Linked DNA regions of Homo sapiens: regions 1 and 2 are each linked to region 3. The links are contacts of gene promoters, found by promoter capture Hi-C in blood cells and fetal thymus (Javierre and others, 2016). All regions are on one chromosome and are shown on one strand. Each heading gives the region's core, a stretch centred on a gene start or on the middle of the fragment in contact. The rest is flanking DNA. Distances are from core to core; before and after follow the strand shown.

Region 1 (4,208 bases), core at 913-3,412, 550 kb after region 3:
CTAGAGCAAGAGGTGGGAAGCAGCTGCATGGAGGGCTACTGCGTGTCAAGCGGCGTTTGGGTCAGTTTTATTATTTATTTATTTAAGATCTCCCTCTGTCGCCCAGGCTGAAGTGCAGCGGTGTGATCACAGCTCACTGCAGTCTCGACCTCCTGGGCTCAAGTGATCCTCCCGCCTCAGCCTCCCAAGTAGCTGGGACCACAGGCCTGCAGAACCACAACCAGCTAACTTTTTGATTCTTTGTAGAGAGGGAGGTCTCCCTGTGTCGCCCAGTCTGGCCTTAACTCCTGAGCTCAAGTGACCCTCCACAGCCTCCAAAAGTGCTAGGATTACATGCATGAGCCACTGAGCCTACTATTATTTTAAACAGCATTAAAAATAATGCTTCCTGGCCAGCCGTGGTGGCTCACGCCTGTAATCCCAGCACTTTGAGAGGCCGAGGTCAGGAGTTCGAGACCAGCCTGACCAACATGGTGAAACCCCGTCTCTACTTAAAAATACGAAGATTAGCCGAGCGTGGTGGTGGGTGCCTGTAGTCCCAGCTGCTCAGGAGGCTGAGACAGGAGAATTGCTTGAACCCAGGAGGCAGAGGTTGCAGTGGGCCAAGATTGAGGTACTGCACTCCAGCCTGGGCGACAGAGTGAGACTTTGTCTCAAAAAAAAAAAAGAAAAAAAAAAAAAAGGTAATGCTTCCTTGAAGAATAAAGAGTTACTTTTGTCTGTAGATAACATTAGATGTGAACAAATGCATCTTTGTAAAGTGCTTTAAACAATGCCTAAAACACCAAAATTGAGTTGCTACTACTCTAAGATCTGTTCTCTGGGATAATAACCCCTTTCGGCCCTCTCCAGGCCCAGCTCTGGTTCCCCGGCTCTGGGCTACCTGCTCCATGGCTACCCTGAACCAGATGCACCGCCTGGGGCCCCCCAAGCGGCCGCCTCGGAAGCTGGGCCCCACGGAAGGCCGGCCGCAGCTGAAGGGTGTGGTCCTGTGCACGTTTACCCGCAAGCCGAAGAAGCCCAACTCAGCCAATCGCAAGTGCTGTCGAGTGCGGCTCAGCACTGGCCGCGAGGCCGTCTGCTTCATCCCTGGGGAGGGCCACACCCTGCAGGAGCACCAGATTGTCCTTGTGGAGGGCGGCCGCACCCAGGACCTGCCAGGCGTCAAGCTCACCGTTGTGCGTGGCAAGTACGACTGTGGCCACGTGCAGAAGAAGTGACGGCTGGGGGCACAGTGGGCTGGGCGCCCCTGCAGAACATGAACCTTCCGCTCCTGGCTGCCACAGGGTCCTCCGATGCTGGCCTTTGCGCCTCTAGAGGCAGCCACTCATGGATTCAAGTCCTGGCTCCGCCTCTTCCATCAGGACCACTATTAAGCCATAGGAGTCCTGGGGGTGCAAAGGGTGCCCCTCTGTCAACACCCTTGGCTCCTGTGTTTAGAGGGGTGGCCTGAAGGACCTTTTCTGCTGGGACAAGACACTGTACTGCCCTCTGCTGGGAAGGGGTTTTAATAAACAGACCCTGGCGCTTGTGATGTAAATCCCCTTGTGGAGTATTTGCCCTCTGTGTGGCTGTGGCAGTGGACATCTCTGAGCTTCAGTTTCCTCCAGAAAATAGCTCCATTGGTGGTATCTCCTTTGTTTGGTTTGGTGAAGATTAAATTCGATGCTCTATGTGCATAACACGCACGGAGGGCTCTTTTTTTTTTTTTTAGACAAAGTCTCACTCTGTTGCCCAGGCTGGAGTGCAGTGGCCTGATCTCAGCTCACTGCAACCTCTGCCCCCCGGGTTCATATGATTCTCCTGCCTCAGCCTCCCGAGTAGCTGGGATTGTAGGCACACACCACCAGGCCTGGCTAATTTTTGTATTTTTAGTAGAGACAGCGTTTCACCATGTTGGCCAGGCTGGTCTCAAACTCCTGAGCTCGGGTGATCTGCCCACCTTGGCCTCCCAAAGTGCTGGGATTACAGGCGTGAGCCACCACGCCTGGCAGAGGGCTACTGTATTTTAAGCTTAGGAGTCAGGTAGGTGGCACAGAGGCCCAGGTCTTCTTCCTGCAGGCCATGGGTTCTGGGCACATAAACTCTGCCCTCAAGCATGGACAGCTGGAAAATGGCAGTAATTGTAATGTTGATGTGGAAGGGGTGTGGAAAGGATTCAATGGGGTGTGCTGCTCCACACCCGGGAGCTGTTCTTTTATTTTATACGTGTGTGTGTGTGTGTGTGTGTGTGTGTGTGTTTGTGTGTGTTTGTGTAGAGAGAGAGACAGAGTCTCACTGTGTTGTCCAGGCTGGAGTGCGGTTCTATGATCAAAGCTTACTTCAGCCTTGACCTCCTGAGCTCAATAGATCCTCCCGCCTCAGCCTCCTGAGTAGTCAGGACCACAGGTGTGTGCCACCACACCTGGCTAACTTTTCCATTTTTTTAGAGTGGGAATCTGGCTTTGTTGTCCAGGCTGGTCTCGAACTCTTGGCCTCAAGAGATCCTTCCACCTTGGCCTCCTAAAATGCTGGATTATAGGTGTGAGCCACTATTATATTATATAATAATATAAAATTATTACTGGGTTCACCTGAGCTCAAATTCTGCTCCCCGTCATAATTGCTATGAGACCTGGCTATGTTGGTTCCCCCTATGGGCCTCGGTTTCCTCCCTTGGAAAATGGCACTGATGATAATGCTGACTGCACCTGATCATGTTTTTGGCCATGTAAGATTTAAGAAGTGGGGCCAGGTGCAGTGGCTCATGCCTGTAATCTCAACACTTTGGGAGGCCGAGGTGGGCCGACCACTTGAGGTCAGGAGTTTGAGACCAGCCTGGCCAACATGGTGAAACCCTGTCTCTACTAAAAATACAAAAATTACCCGGGCATGGTGGCATGTGCCTATAATCTCAGCTACTCAGGAGGCTGAGGCAGGAGACTTGCTTGAACCTGGGAGGTGGAGGTTGCAGTGAGCTGAGATCAGCACCACTGCACTGCAGCCTGGGTGACAGAGTGAGACTCTGTCTCAAAAAAAGAAAAAAGAAAAAACAATGTTGGAACTGTGTTTATATCATTGGGCTCTGGAGCCCAGCACTGCTCCAAGCCCTGCCTCCCCTACTTACTGGCTGGGTGACCTTGGGCAGGTTGTTTACACTCTGAGCCTGGACCAAATGGCGCTGATAAGGGTGCATGCTTGAGAGCTGTTTGGAGCATCATAGCTGTCTCCGAGTTCCTCTTGACGCTCAACACACAGCCTCCTGAGGGTCTCCTGATTGTAAACATGAGGCCACAAGGTCTTTTAGGATCAGAGCTGGTGGCAGATAAGTGCACTGATTACAGATAAAAATTGCCCATCCCCTCATATTTGGCACCAGTTTTATTGAGCTAGTTTGTTGGCCATGCCTAGCTGAGAAATAGAGAAGTGGAGGGAGATGGGGGGATGGGAGAGCTTTTCCTCATGGCACACTCTGCTCCAGGAGTCTGTATACAGGAGTGTGGAGAAAAGGAAGTGTTACCTTGCAGGAAGTTGCCCCCAAAGCAAGGGCAGGAGGTGGGGGTGGGGGACTTGGCCTCTGATGGAATTCTGGAATTCTGATGAGAGAGGTGCTAGCCTGACCTGAACAGGAGATGCTGACAGGCAGTGCTGGGCATGTTGCACAGAGATGGCTGGTTACACAGCCCCGTGGCAGGATCCCAGAGTGCCGAGACCAGCTGGGTCGTGGAGACCCTAACCCAGTGGCGCTAGAGGAATTAAAGACACACACCCAGAAATACAGGGTGTGGAGTGGGAAATCAGGGGTCTCACAGCCTTCAGAGCTGAGAGCCTCGAACAGAGATTTACACACATATTTATTGACAGCAAGCCAGTGATAAGCATTATTTCTATAGATTATAGATTAACTAAAAGCATTTCTTATGGGAAATAAAGGGATGTGCCAAAATAAACGGATGGGCTCTGGCTAGTTATCTGCAGCAGGAACATGTCCTTAAGGCACAGATCGCTCATGCTATTGTTTGTGGTACAGGAACCCCTTTAAGCCGTTTTCCATCCTGGGTGAGCCAGGTGTTCCTTGCCCTCATTCCAGTAAACCCACGACCTTCAGGGTGGGGGTCATGGCCATCATGAACATGTCACAGTGCTGCAGAGATTTTGTTTATGGCCAGTTTTGGGGCCAGTTTATGGCCAGATTCAGGGGCCTGTTCCCAACATGTCCCCTTTTTTGT
Region 2 (4,237 bases), core at 1,716-4,215, 950 kb after region 3:
AGGCAGGCAGATCACTTGAGTCCAGGAGTTCAAGACCAGCCTGGGCAACATGGTGAAACCCCATCTCTACTAAAAATACAAAACTTAGCCAGGTTTGATGGCATACGGCTGTAGTTCCAGCTACTCCAGAGGCTGAGGCAGGAGAATCACTTGAACCCAGGAGGCAGGGGTTGCAGTGAGCCGAGGTTGCAGTGAGCCGCGATCGCACCACTACAATCCAGTCTGGGCAACAGAGTGAGACCCTGCCCCCCCCCCCCACACACACACACACACACACACACACACACACCAACAATGACTAAAATACTAAGTTATCTGTCACCACCCCTACCCCATTGCCTCTTGGACCTTGTCCTTCACTGCCCTCTTTTGCTCACTCCACTCCAGCAATGCTGGCCCCTTTGTGGTTCTGTGAATGATCCTACTACATGGCCTTTGCACTTGCTGTTTTCTCTTTCTGGAACCCACTTTCTCCTTCATTCCTTCAGATTTCTGTTTCAGTCTCACCTAATGAAAGAGGCCTTTCCCCATGTAAATTAATTCTGGCTGCATTACTCCATTCCCTTAGCTGCTTTCTTGTTATTTATTTGTTTATTTATTTAGAGACATAGTCTCGCTCTGTCACCTGGGCTAGAGTGCAATGGCAAATCTCGGCTTATTGCAACCTCCGACTCCTGGGTTCAAGTGATTCTCCTGCCTCACCCTCCTGAGTAGCTGGAACTACAGGCACGCATCACTATGCCCAGTTAATTTTTGGCATTTTTAGTAGAGACAGGGTTTTGCCACTTTGGCCAGGCTGGTCTCAAACTCCTGGCCTCAAGTGATCCACCAGCCTCAGCCTCCCAAAGTGCTGGGATTACAGGCATGAGTCACCATGCCCAGCCACTGCTTTCTTTTTCTCCTTGGTACTTATCACGAAGTTACACTGTATTTCCTTATTGTTTGTGTCCCCAAGAACTAGAATGTAAGTCTTTTTGTTTTTTTTTTGTTTTTTTTTTGAGACGGAGTTTCACTGTTGTTGCCCAGGCTGGAGTGCAATGGCACGATCTTGGCTCACTGCAACCTCCGCCACCCGGGTTCAAGCGATTCTCTTGCCTCAGCCTCCCAAGTAGCTGGGACTACAGGCATGTGCCACCACGCCCCGCTAATTTTGTATTTTTAGTAGAGATGGGATTTCACCATGTTGGTCAGGCTGGTCTCGAACACCTGCCTCGGCCTCCCAAAATGCTGGGATTACAGGTGTGAGCCACCGCGCTCATCCTATTGTTGTGTTTCTAGCACCTTAAGCAGAGCCTGGCACATATTAGATAGTCAAGAAATATTATTGAATGAATTAATGAACCAGCAGTTAATGAGCACAATAATTCTATGCAGTGTGAAGGCTGTTGCTTAAATGCAGGAGGTAGTGGATGGGGTTTGTGACATGGCCCCACCCTGGTGAAACAGCCTTTCCTCAAAGCGTCTATAATGCCACACTCTCCTGGTTTTCCTCTCTCTGGCTGCCTTTTGCAATATTCATCGACAGCGTCAATTCCTTTGCTCAAATCCTGCCTCTCTGTTTCAGGGTTCTGTTCAGTCCCTGTCTCCAGTGACCCTTCATACCCTCCCCGGGCTAGACCCCTAACTCCCACAGCCTCAATTACCATCTTTGACGATCCTTAAATCTTGGTCTCCAGCCTCAATTTCTCCCTTAAGCTCCAGACCCAGGGTTTGTGCACCTCCTGGACCTCGCTACTAGGCATCCACATTGGGCTTAGTATCTTCCCAACCTGCTTCTGGCGCCCAGTCTCCCGGCTAGAGGGGCCTGGTCCTAAACTTTTCTCCCCCTTCCACTCCATAGCCAGCCAGTGTCAGGGCCCGTTCGCTCTGCCTCCAGGGCGTCCCTCCCACCTGCACCTCCTTCCCTCCCCACAGTCCCTCCCTCGTGCAAACCCCCTCTTTCTTCCCCACCCCCTCCCCCAGCTGCCTCCCTGGACTCCCGATCCCGTTTCATTCCCTCCAATCCGCCCTCCATGTATAAGCCAGAGAGACATCTCTCCAAAACCCCAGACTCACCATGATCCTCCCCGGCTTGAAGCCCTTCACGGCTCCCTAGTGCCCTCGGGACAAGTCCAAACTCCCTCAAGTGGCCAAACAACTGGCCTCTGCTCGTTCCTCACCCCTCCCTGTCTTCAACTCGACCCTCCATCCCGACTGCCTCTCTAAGTGCCTGTAACAAGCCAGATCTCTGTCACCGAGAGCCTTCTGAACACAGGTCCCTCTGATTAGTTCACCCGGACCCAATACAGTTTGTGGAACGCACAGATCACAACCAAAGTCACAGCAACAACTCCCGTTTATTGACAGCCTCCTTGATCCTTAGCGCTTTCTGTGCATTCTCTTCCCACCCTAAAGGCTAGATCTCGCCTCGCCATTCCCATCGGAGAGAGCAAGCGGCAAGGCTGAGAACAGCGCGATGAGAAAGCCGAGCGCCCAGAAGCCCGAGTGCAGACGCCCACTGAGGACAGCCTTGGGTGAGGCGGGCCACCCAAGGGGCGGGGAAGAGGAGGCCTGGAACGCCTGAATCAGGAACTGTGACTTCGCTCGGGGCAGCTGGGGTGGACGCGCGCGAGCCTGCCCCCTGCGGGCCTGGAGGCCCAACCTCAGACTCCGCCGGGCCCGTTGCCCTGGGCAACGCCCCGCGCGCCCCGCCCCTTCCCCGCCCCCCAGCCCCAAACCCCAGGCCTGGCCGACTGCCCGTCACCCCCACGTCCGACCAATCCCGCCGAGGAGGGGGCGGGCCTCTTGGGCCCCGTTCCACCACCGTCGCTCCCCCCTCGCCGCGACCCCGCCTTACTCGGCTCACACCTCCCGCCCTTCGGGCTGCCCTCGCCGCCCGTTGGCTGGCGCGCCGTTCGTCACCCGGGCGTGAGCTAATGCCGGCGCGCGGCGGCCCCCGTCGGGGCGGGGCCAGGGGCGGTGACGCACGGCGCGGTGACGCAGCGCGACGGCGGCGGCGGCGGCGGCGGCGGTGGTCGGTGCGGGAGGAGGGAGGGGAGCTTGCGGGCCCGAGAGGGGGCGACGGCGGCGGCGGTGGCCTGAGGAGGCCCGAGCGGCGGCGGTGGCGGCGAAGGCCGAGGCGGTGAGTCTCGGGCCGGGCCGGCGCGGGGCGGCGGCGAGTCGGGGCGCGCGGGGCTCCCCTCAGGGCGACCCAGGCCGCGCGGGCGGCCCCGCCCCCTCAGGGACCCCGAACCGCGGGCGGCGGCGGCGGGCGGGTGCGGAACGCGGGCCTCGGGGGGCCGGGCCCCACGGGAGAAGCCCCGCGCCCGTCCCCAGTCTCCCTCCTGGGCCCTGGCCGAAGCTTCCCTCCGAAATCTTTCTCATGCCCTCGGGATTGCCGAGGGGCCGGGCCGGGGGCCTCTCCTCAGGACCCCCCGCACATCCCCCTCGGAGAGCCCCGGAAAGCCTGCCGATCCCCCGTGTGCGCCCTGAAAGGTCCCCGCAAAACCCACCCCTCCCGTGGAGTCGCCTCCTCGAGCCCTTCATGGGTCCCAGCAGCTTTCCTCGCAGACCCCCGCCCTTTGGCCCCGAAGCCCCCGTCCTCCTCCTGTCTCCAGAAATAGTCCTCGGAGGCCACTCCTCGTCCATTCCACAGCGTGGCTCTCATAGCTGCTCCAGGAGCCTCCCTCACGAGCCCTGCACACCTCCCCAAGGCTCCCTCCGGACCCCTGTCCATTCCAGAACTCTCCCCCGGAGCCCTGCCTCTCACAGCCCAACAGGCTCACCCGACTTCCCCCTCCCGGATCCTAAGAATTTTCCCTCCCACTTACCCCATTCCAGAAACCTCCTTGGAGATTTTCCGCTCATACCCCCTGCATTTCTGATTCCCCCTCCCAGAAGTCCTTCAGAATGCCCCCGACGGACCGTGATCATCTTCCCTGAAGATCTCCTTCCCATATCCCCAAAATAAATCTTCCTCACAGACTTTGTGAAATGCCCCCAGATCCCAAAAACTCACCTAGAAGACTCCATCCCCCTCCCCACCGTATTGCAACCATCTCTCATACACACTCCCCCTTCACGTATCCCTCTGGACCTTTCCACAGATCCCAAAAGTCTCCCCCAGAGGCCTCCTGTCTCCCCCTGGTCTCACCACCCTAAAATGCCCTAGAGATCACCCTCATGTAGCCCAGTGATCTTCACCGGGATCCCCTTCCCCACCCCCACTCATTCTAAAAATCTCCAGCAATTGCCTGAA
Region 3 (4,147 bases), core at 1,595-4,094:
CTTAGGGATTGGATGCCATAGGGCTGGGCCAGGGTGTCCCCCTTTCCCCGTCAAAGGTCAGCATGGGATCATGGGTCCTCTTGGTCCTGAAGGGTGGGAGCTCAGCTAGGTTTGAGATGTGGCAGAGATGAAGGCCACGGGTCATTCTAGGGTCAGGAAGCCAAAGGGCTGAGTAGGACTCTATCCAGCAGTCTGGGGTTCGGCACCCTCCTGTCCCTTCTCCCCTCTCACCAGGCAGAGACGTTGCGTGGCAGGCGGCGATGGCGTGGCTGGTGGTGGCAGTAACACTTGCAGGGACAGGAGTTAAGCACCTGGAAGGGCAGCCAGTGGCGCGCAGCGCGGGTGTTAGCTGCCCCAGTCTGAGAGGCCCCGCTGCCACCACCCCCTCCACCACTGCTGTCAGGCACGGTAGCTGTAGCTCGTTCGCGAGGACCATCTCCATGCAAGCCATCCTTACGGGTCGCGCCCCGGGCTGCACGGGAACCCTTGTTCCTGCGCGTGCGGGTCTTGATGGGCGCAGCCGCGGGTGCGGGCGCGGACACAGGCGGCGAGGGCTCAGCCACGGTGGGAGCTGGAGCCGGGGATGGGGCCGGGGCCTGGTCGGCGGCTAAGGCTGGGGGCAGAGCAGGGGCTGCGGTGGGAGCCAGGGCTGACTCCTTGTGGCCCAGACCCGGGGTGAGCGGGGGAGCCACCGGCAGCGGCGTTGGCTGGAGCGCTGGTGGCTGCAGTGTGGGCGGCGGTGTGGGCGGTGGCAGCGGTGGTAACTCCTGCAGGCCTGGAGGCCCCGGGCGCATGGGCTCGCCATTGGTGGGTGCTGGGAAGATGAACGTAGGCGGCGCCAGCAGGGCAGGTGCGGGCCTCCGGGGCCCGGGAGCTGAGTGTATCTGCTCTGGTGGTGGCGGAGGGGAGCCCCAAGGCCCAGAGAGTGCGGCCGCACGCCGTCGCGGCGCCCCGATGCCTCCGCCAGCCCCGTTGAAGCGGAAGTGGCGTTCAGGGCCGTCGGGAGCGCTAACCCAGTCGAATTTGGGCTTCGAGCCTGGGAAGGTGGTGTAGGGTGGCGGCGGTAGGGCCCGGGCTTGGGACGCAGGCGCCGAGGGAGGACCAGAGCACCCTTCGCCGTCTCCATCACCTCCCTCGGCTTCCTGTGCCCCTCGAGAAACCTCTCCCAAGGGGCGAGCGGCTCCAGGAGGCAGGGGCCCTTGCTTCAGGACCTCGGCGTAAGAGATGGCACCTGAGGCAGCAAAGAGGCCGCCGCCTCCGCCGCCCCCCAGCGAAGCTTTGGCTGCTAAGGAACTCGAGGCTGCCGGAGGGGCCAAAGAGGGCCTCGACTTGAAGGTGATTTTACACAGCAGGCTCAGACCGGACTCGGAATCCGCAGGCTGGGCCATTTCGCCTTCGCCCGCATGGGGAGGCGCCCCTCCGCGAGCCCTGCCGGCCGTCTGGCCCTGGTTGCGGGGCCCAGCCTGGCTTTCTGTCGGGGGTGAGGCGGGTGTGGCCAGAGCAGGAGTGATTCTGCGGTCCGCCGGCTGCCGTTCAGAAGGTAATGGTGGTGGCGGCTTCCAAGTCTCCAGGGGCGGCGGAAATTGGGATGGGGCCCTCGGGACAGTGTCCTTCACGGATAGTTGCCGGGGCGGCGGCGGCGGCTTCAGCGGGCGGAGGCTCGGAGGGTCGCCCTGGCCGCGATGGCTCGCCTCCAGCAGGCGGCGGATCCGGGGAACTGGAGTGCCCGCGGGCTTTTGCCATTTAGACGGGCCGGGCAGCAGAGTCCCCGCGGGGGCCGGGGGTGGTGCAGAGACCGCGGCCGCCTCTTCAGGAGGGGGCATCACTGGAGAGGGCCGTTCTAAGGTGAGGGGCAGGGTCGAGGGTGAGGCCTGGGGCTCCCGGGGTACCATGAGTCCCGGGGGTGTGGCGCTGCCAGGGAACCAGACACCCAGCCCACGAGTCAGGCGCATGGCCTGGGAGGTCATCTCGGGCTCCACCAGGGACGTCCGGCGGGAGTCGGGGGCGCGGTCCGAGGGCTGCACTTTTCGGGAGCCCCCGCCCGCGGATGGCTCCGACTGCAAGTTCCCCATTTCTGACGGAGCTCGGAGACTAGTCAGAAAAATTTACTCCAGTCAGCCTGCCAGGGCCGTGGGGACCCTACGAGGCTGGCTGTACTTGATCTAATGCGTCCGCACCGGCCCCGCCCCTGTTCTCCAAGATCCGATCAGGCCCAAGTCCTTAGGTCGCACTCCTGTTCCCCGACCTTCGACACTCACGCCTTCTTGCCCATGTCCCCAACACAGCTGCTGTTAAGATACTTCACTACCAGCCCCATTATGTACTAAGGTTCCATGCCTGTCCCCTTGGCTGGTCATGCTGATCCCTCAGTCCTCTCCTCTAACTCTCCGACTCCCCGCCTCTCTCTAGAGCACCTGGGTCCCGCCCTCTTCCCAGGCAGGGGCAGATCCTCAGGCCTCACCCCTAAACCTCTTCCCGCTCCAGGTCTACTAGCTGGCATCCACAGTCAAGCTCCACCCCTGTCCCCAAGCTCCGCCCTGGCCCCGCCTCCCCCCAGAGGAACCCACTCACCGAGTCCTCCAGCCGAGCAGAGTTCAGACCGCGGCGCCCTGGGCCCGGGGCAGGGCAGGGAACTGCCGTAGCAGAAAATAACCGAAAAGAACGGGGGTGCGGGTGAAGGCAAGTGGGCGAGACAACTAGGGCGGACCCCGAGATGTAGGCCCCGCCCCCGGAGCTCGAGGCCCCGCCCTCCTGCGAGCCCGCGGGAGCCCGGCCCCTTACGAACCTAGGTCTCCCCTTGAAATACTCCGAGGTCTTGTTCCTCGCCCCCAGGCCTTCTGGTTCTAAGCTCCACCCCTTTGGGTTGTTCTCCTTAGCCCCTCCCCTTTAGAATGTCCCGCCCCTCTCATTCCCTCCCGAGGCCCCGCCCACGCGAACACCGATGCGTCGCTCCTCCCCTTTGGACCTCTCATCTGCCCCGCCCCTAAGGCAATTTACCTCTAAGCTCCGCCTTTTTAAGACCCGGCAACATCGCTTCTCAAGACCCTCTCCTTCCCCCCGGGCGCCGAGAAGGCCCATCCACCGTGGGCCCGCCCCTTCGTGACGCACGCACTAGTCCTCGCCTGCAGCATCCAAACCTCCTTATACCCAGGCCCTCCAACCCCACCCACTTGTGAAGGCTCCCCTCTCGCCCCACCCCTTATCGAACTCTGCCAGGCACCCAAGCCACAGCGTAGACCACCACCTCTTTAGAACCTTGAGACCAGTCCCTGTCCCTGCCCCGTCCCCTCCTCATAGCATTAGAGACCAATGGCGCAGATGGGTGGAAAAGTGGGGGATCCCCTCTGGATCTTAAGAAAATGGGGGCTGGGGGGTTGCTCTCTGGAGCTAGTGCCGGGCTCTAGGACCCAGCAGGCAAGTAAGCCCGCCTCGCTCTTACCCCTCCCCCAAGCCGCCCCTTCCCCCCCCACCCGTCTTCCAGGTTCCCCCTCCCTCCCCCCTCGCCCCGGCTCCCGGTGCCCGTCTCCAGCGCCGCCGGAGCCAGCCAGGGAGCCGGAACGAAAAGGAGGAGGAGGAGGCCGCGTCGCCGCCGCTCGGAGCCCGGCCGGAGCCTCGCAGGCAGGTGCCGAGGGGGGCGAGGGGGCGGGGGCTGACAGACTGCCTGCCCCGATGAGGGGGCGGCCGTGACCGCGCTGCGCCTTCTGCCCACCCAGGCGCCCCCAAGGCCCCGGCTAGGAGGACTAGAGAGTGGGGACCCCCCAAACTGCGCGGCAGCCATTCAGGGTACCAGTCTTCATTTGTGGGGTCTGGACTTTCTCCGAGGATGCCCCATTCACAAAATTCCGTCCTGGACCCTCACCGTTGAGGAACGCTGAGGACCACTCCCCCCGGGGGACACAGGATGTGTGGGGAGCGTAGGCCACCCTGAAATGCCAGTGCCCCATTCCAGCTAGGCCCTGGGGGGACCCCTGCTCTCATTCCCTGCTTCACCTGTTGTCGGGGGAGGCGGGCGGACAAAGGAAGCAGCGTCACGTGACTGCTCATTCACAAAATCCCATCCCATTGAGAAAAGGGGGCTGGGGGCGCTGCAGCCGCCCCTTCCCCTCCTGAAGGGCCCGGGAAACCCAGCAGCCTGCAGGTGGGGGAG

What was found. The method cuts DNA at HindIII sites, captures the fragments that hold promoters and counts their contacts. A CHiCAGO score of 5 or more calls a contact.
Region 1: a fragment that was not itself captured here is called in contact with the fragment with the promoter of GGN in region 3 in 16 of 17 cell types (naive CD8 T cells, total CD8 T cells, non-activated CD4 T cells and 13 more); the score reaches 19.3 in naive CD8 T cells.
Region 2: a contact is called between the fragment with the promoter of SAMD4B here and the fragment with the promoter of GGN in region 3, in 1 of 17 cell types (naive CD8 T cells). The highest score is 5.2, in naive CD8 T cells.

What each region holds. Positions count from the first base shown.
Region 1 is chr19:38,931,481-38,935,688 of GRCh38, forward strand. It overlaps MRPS12 (mitochondrial ribosomal protein S12), which reads left to right. Exons shown (of 3, transcript NM_033362.4): 3 at 853-1,688. The coding sequence ends at 1,220. It overlaps LOC124904713 (a long non-coding RNA gene), which reads right to left. Exons shown (of 2, transcript XR_007067253.1): 2 at 3,343-4,208. Among named protein-coding and RNA genes, the nearest start is that of MRPS12, 2.6 kb to the left of the region's middle. The HindIII fragment of the contact is 303 bases long and covers 2,012-2,314 here.
Region 2 is chr19:39,339,456-39,343,692 of GRCh38, forward strand. It overlaps SAMD4B (sterile alpha motif domain containing 4B), which reads left to right and starts at 2,966. Exons shown (of 14, transcript NM_001384574.2): 1 at 2,966-3,121. RefSeq lists a silencer at 2,655-3,084. The HindIII fragment of the contact is 6,593 bases long and covers 1-3,338 here.
Region 3 is chr19:38,385,190-38,389,336 of GRCh38, forward strand. It overlaps GGN (gametogenetin), which reads right to left and starts at 2,845. Exons shown (of 4, transcript NM_152657.4): 1 at 2,786-2,845; 2 at 2,572-2,633; 3 at 232-2,091. The coding sequence starts at 2,072. It overlaps SPRED3 (sprouty related EVH1 domain containing 3), which reads left to right and starts at 3,508. Exons shown (of 6, transcript NM_001394336.1): 1 at 3,508-3,618. RefSeq lists a silencer at 2,641-2,880. The HindIII fragment of the contact is 15,577 bases long and covers 1,275-4,147 here.